Regions from separate parts of the Homo sapiens genome. Here region 2 is linked to region 1. Evidence: promoter capture Hi-C in human tissues and cell types (Jung and others, 2019). All regions are on one chromosome and are shown on one strand. Each heading gives the region's core, a stretch centred on a gene start or on the middle of the fragment in contact. The rest is flanking DNA. Distances are from core to core; before and after follow the strand shown. Region 1 holds the start of C22orf15 (chromosome 22 open reading frame 15). Region 2 has its middle 5.0 kb from the start of LINC01659.

Evidence for each region. The method cuts DNA at HindIII sites, captures the fragments that hold promoters and counts their contacts. A contact is called where the count stands out against the background at its distance.
Region 2: a fragment that was not itself captured here is called in contact with the fragment with the promoter of C22orf15 in region 1 in 3 of the 25 tissues and cell types used here (H1 embryonic stem cells, mesenchymal stem cells and small bowel).

The regions. Positions count from the first base shown.
Region 1 is chr22:23,761,702-23,764,326 of GRCh38, forward strand. C22orf15 (chromosome 22 open reading frame 15) reads left to right here and starts at 1,289. Exons shown (of 6, transcript NM_182520.3): 1 at 1,289-1,630; 2 at 2,386-2,472; 3 at 2,559-2,625. The coding sequence starts at 1,606. The HindIII fragment of the contact is 4,822 bases long and covers 1-1,634 here.
Region 2 is chr22:23,437,258-23,439,882 of GRCh38, forward strand. No RefSeq gene overlaps it. Among named protein-coding and RNA genes, the nearest start is that of LINC01659, 5.0 kb to the left of the region's middle. The HindIII fragment of the contact is 4,366 bases long and covers 1-2,625 here.

The sequences.
Region 1 (2,625 bases), core at 39-2,538:
TGTCTACTAAAAATACAAAAAATTAGCCAGGGGTGGTGGCTGGCGCCTGTAATACCAGCTACTCCGGAGGCTGAGGCAGGAGAATCGCTTGAACCCGAGAGGCGGAGGTTGCAGTGAGCCGAGATTGCGCCACTGCACTGCAGCATGGCTGACAGAGCGAGACTCATTCTCAAAAAAAAATAAATAGGTCAGGCTTGGTGGCTCAGCACTTTGGGAGGCCAAGATGGGCGGATCATTTGAGGTCAGGAGTTCGAGACCAATCTGACCAATATGGTGAAACTCCATCTCTATTAAAAATACAAAAAAAGGCCGGGCGCAGTGGCTCACGCCTGTAATCCTGTAATCCCAGCACTTTGGGAGGCCGAGGCGGGCAGATCACGAGGTCAGGAGATTGAGACCGTCCTGGCTAACATGGTGAAACCCCGTCTGTACTAAAAATACAAAAAAAATTAGCTGGGCGTGGTGGCGAGCGACTGTAGTCCCAGCTACTCAGGAGGCTGAGGCAGGAGAAAGGCGTGAACCCGGGAGGCGGAGCTTGCAGTGAGCCGAGGTCACACCACTGCACTCCAGCCTGGGCGAGGGAGCGAGACTCCGTCTCAAAAAAAAAAAAAAAAAAAAAAAAAACTAGCCAGGTGTAGTGGTGCACACCTGTAGTCCCAGTTACTTGGGAGGCTGAGGCAGGAGAATCGCTTGAACTCGGGAGGCGGAGGTTGCAGTGAGCCGAGATCGTACCACTGCATTCTAGCCTGGGTGACAGGGAGACTCCATCTCAAAAAATAAAAATTTAAAAAACACCAATAATAATAATAATTAATAAACTTAATAAATAAATAAATAAAAGACAGGAAATGACGGTGAGAACCGGTGTGAGGGACTAGCTAGTGGCCAGTGCTAACAAGGAGGTGCTTGTGACCTGCTATGGACCTGGAAGCGACTAGGGCTGAGTACAAAGGGGGCAAAGGAATTTGGGGGTGATGGAAATGTTCTGTATCTTGACTGTGGTGGTGGTTATATGAGAGTTGGCATAACTTTAAAACACCAGAAAGGGTGAACTTTACTGTACAAGTGGTTCACAACTGCAATCCCAGCACTTGTGGGAGGCTGGGGCTGGAGAATTGCTTGAGCCAAGTTCGAGACCAGCCTGGGCAACATAGGGAGACTGTCTCTAAAAAAAATCAATCCCAATGATGGCATTCCCCGCCTCAGGGAATGCCAGCCCCCACTTCTTCTGTCACCTCTCCCCCATGGGCCCCGTTAACGGATACAGGGAGGAAGGCATTTCCTGCCTAGATGTCTCCGCCCCCACTGCCATGGAGACCAGCTTGGAAGCTTAGGGGAGCTGCTGTGGCCCAGGGCTCAGTGGGGAGGAAGAGGAGGCCAGGAGTCTTGGACTAGCTGCAGGGTTTGAGCTAGGCTGAAGCAGCAGAACCACAGAGGTGGCTGAGCAGGGGCCTGGCCCTGGGACCCAGCCATCCACACTCACACATCCACTTCTCCCTCCAGAGCCCGGCCCTGAAGCAGGTCTCTGCTCCACGCTTTTCCTTAGTTGGGGAATCGAGAGTTGGGGGATCAAAGCCCCCCACATCTCCCTCACCCGCTGCAGCTATGTTTATCAAGGTGATGTTTGGGGGTAAGTGGGGTCCCCTGTCTTGGTAGGCGGATAGGGGGATGAGCACACTCAGAGGCGTGCTTCCTTCCGCCCTTGCGGTGGGTGGGGAGGCAATGGCGGGAAAGGGGGGTGGTGCACATGGCGGGGGTCGTCGGGGAAGCGGCTCTGTGAGGAGGCGAAGCCAGCACCTGGAGCGAGTCCCTTAAAGGGAAAACCCGAGCTGAGTCCTGCTCATTCACAAGGGTTCCTCTCGGCCAGAGACCGCCGCATTACCCTGGAGCAGGTTTTTAAGCCGCACAATCTCTTCGCCATTCAATCCGTGATCCTCAAGCTTCAGCGTGCATCAGACACCTGAAACTCTAGCCACAGTTGCAGGGTCCCCGTGCCTCTGGCTGGAGGCGGGTCGGCCCTGTGCGGTAGCGGAAGGGAAGAGAGGAGCCGGTGGGTGCGGAGGGCGGGGACTGGCTGGGTCCCGTGGGGGCGGGTCCCGGGAGGAGGCTGGGCTGGCGCCCACTTCGTGCTTTGCAGGACTCAAGAGACCAACACTTGGGAGTCACCACACATGGGAGAAAAGTCACCACACATGGGAGATGGATGGAGGGTTCTCCAAGGCAGTTTAAGCAACAGATGTTGGAGCTGTTATGCCCGGGGCACAGTCTTAGCCCATAGGCCCAGTCGCAGCTCTGGGAAAGGGAGAGATGGGAGGGAGAGACAGAGGACCCCGATTTGGAGGAAGGTAAGAGATCTCACAGGCTCACCTTTGCCCCTCTCCACAGCTGGCTGCTCGGTGCTGGTGAACACCTCTTGCAGGCTGGTGAACCTCACCGCCCACCTGAGGCAGAAAGCAGGGTTGCCCCCAGATGGTGAGGAGACAGGGAGGAGAAGGAGGGGCTGAGGGGTCCCAGGCAGGGGTGCCAGCCCTGCCCAGTCTCTCTCCATGTCCTCCCAGCGACCATTGCTCTCCTGGCTGAGGATGGCAACCTAGTGAGCCTGGAGGAGGACCTGAAGGAAGGGGC
Region 2 (2,625 bases), core at 93-2,592, 320 kb before region 1:
TGGCCAAGCTCAGGCCATATGAGCTGGGACTGGCAGGCAGTTCCTGGCTGCCTCAAATCTGGGGTCCAGACTCTCTGCTGACCTCCCAGAGCCCGGCGTGTCTTTGCACACTCTGTCCTTGTCCCCAGCCTCCTCCCCGCCCCAGGGTGTGCCTGGGACTTTAGGTAGTCTTACCTGTCAGTCATACTTTCTTCTCGGCCAGGGACTGTGGACGGCAGGACGTTCACCCCGTGGTCAGTGGCTGGGCCTTTCTCATGAAGCAGCTTGATTGAGATGTCATCTACAGAGCGTGCAGCCATCATCACAGTCTATCTTGGAATGAATGCCTTTATCACCCTGGAAGGAAACGTGCCCCATAGCCATCCCCTCCCAGCCATCGGCAGCCACTGTCTGTGTTCTGTCTCTAGACTCCCCTACCGGCAGTGTTGCAGGGAGATGGGCTCAGCGATGAGTGGTCTCTGGCGTCTGGCGTCTTTCACTGAACGTAAGGTTTTCACGGTTCGCTCACATTGGACCACGTGCTGACGCTCCATTTGTTACTGATGAATCATACAGTCTAGTGTGTGGATAGACCATGTTGTTTATCCGTTCATCCATTGATAGAACATTTGAATTGCTTCCGTTTAGGGCTATTACACACAGTGCCGCTGTGAACATTCGTGTACAAGCTTGTGTGTGGAAATGCATTTTTGTTTCTCTCGGGTGTACACCCATAAGAGGAAGTGCCGGGGTCACGTGGTAATTTAACGTTGAGCTTTGTAAGGAGCTGCCTCTTCTCCCAGGTTCTCCCCGTCCTCCCCAACACGCGCCACTGTCTGCTTTTATGATGCTTTTCCATCCCAGGGGCTGCGGGTGCCGCTGGGTTACAGGGTCCGTGAACCTCCTGAGATTCAAATGCAAAATGTGAAGTGGGTGTTGGCGTGGGTTTCGGGTAGAGGGACTGCAGCCCCTGCACGGGGTTAGGAATATGTTTCCCAGTCCAGGCAGAGCTACGCAGGAATCGCCTCTAGACACCCAAGAGGGAGCAGTTTTGTCTGGAGAAGTAGCCCACTGCCGTGTTTCACCAGGCTGGCCTGTGATAGCTGGACCTGCCCCGATGCCACCACCTCCTCCTGCCAGGGCTTCCCTGTTTGCTGAGTCTGCGTTATTGATGAGTCATCGTCTATATACACGCACCCGTGAGGCCGTCAAGGCAGTGAACAGACCCTTCGCCCCCAGATCCCAGGCCCTGTGCAGCCTGCCTTGCCCCTCCCACTGCAACCCGACCCCAAGCAGCCACTGATCCTTCTGTGTTTCCTGTCACCACGGGTTCATCCATGTTTTCTAGAGTTTCTGTAAGTGGAATCACGCAGTATCTAGCCTTTCTCGTCTGGCTTCTTCCACTAAGCGTAGTTAGTTTGAGATTTATCCATGTTGCTGTGGTATCAACAGTTTATCCCTTTACAGTCATACAGATAGACCACAGTGTCTTCATCCATCCAGATGTTGACGGGCATTCCGGTGGCTTCCAGCTTGGGGCTGTTGCAAATAAAGTGTACAGTGAACATTCACATGCAAGCTTTGCACGGACATTTATTTCTTTTCTCTTGGCTAAATCGGAGTGGAACTGCTTGATTGTGTGGTCGGTGCATGCTTAACTTTACAAGAAGTTGCCAAGCTGTTTTCCAAAGTGCCTGCACCATTTTCCATTCCTATCAGCAGTATAGGAGACTTGTAGTTTCTCCACACGGTCACCAGTACTTGACATGATCAGTCTTTTTAATTTCAGTCCTTCTAAGAGGTGACTGATGGCGTCTCATTGTGGTTTTAATTTGCATTTTCCTCATGACGAATGACACTGAGCATCTGTACCTGTGCCAACTTGCTGGTCTTCGCTGAAGTGCCTGTTCACATCTTCTGCTAATTATTTATGGGGTTCTATGTTTCCTTAATGAGTTTTGAGAGTTCTTTGTATACTCCAGATGCAAATCCTTCATCAAATATGTACATTGCTGGTGTTCTCTCCTTATATATGACATGTTTTTTCATTCTCTTAACAATGTCTTTTGAAGAGCAGACATTTTTAATTTTGATTAAGTCTAACTTACCCGTCTTTTATTTTATAGAGTGTGCTTTTGCTGTCGTATCTAAGAAATCTTTACCTAACCCAAGGTCACAAAGACTGCCTCCATTTTTTTTCTTCTAGAAGTTTTATAGTTCTAAATTTTACATTTGTGTTCATGATCCATTTTGAGTTTTTTTTTATATGGTGCAAGGTCTGGATTGACTCTTTTTCATTTTTTATTGCATATGAACGTCCAGTTACTCCAGTATCAAGATCATTCTTTTTTACTGAATAGCCTTTTGCATCTTTGTCAGCCTGCTAGGATTTTAATTGGAATTATGCTGACTCTATAGATCATTTTGGGGATAATTGACATCTTAATGATATGGAAACTTCTAATCTATGAACAGTTTCTCTCAGCAATGTGTTCTCATTTTCAATGTGCGGGTATCAGAGGCATTTGAACCAGAGTGACTCCATTTTGAATAAGGACTGGGTGAAATAAGACTGAGACCTACAGGACTGCTTTCCCAGAAGGTTAGGCGTTCATAGTCACAAGATGAGATAGGAGGTCCGCACAA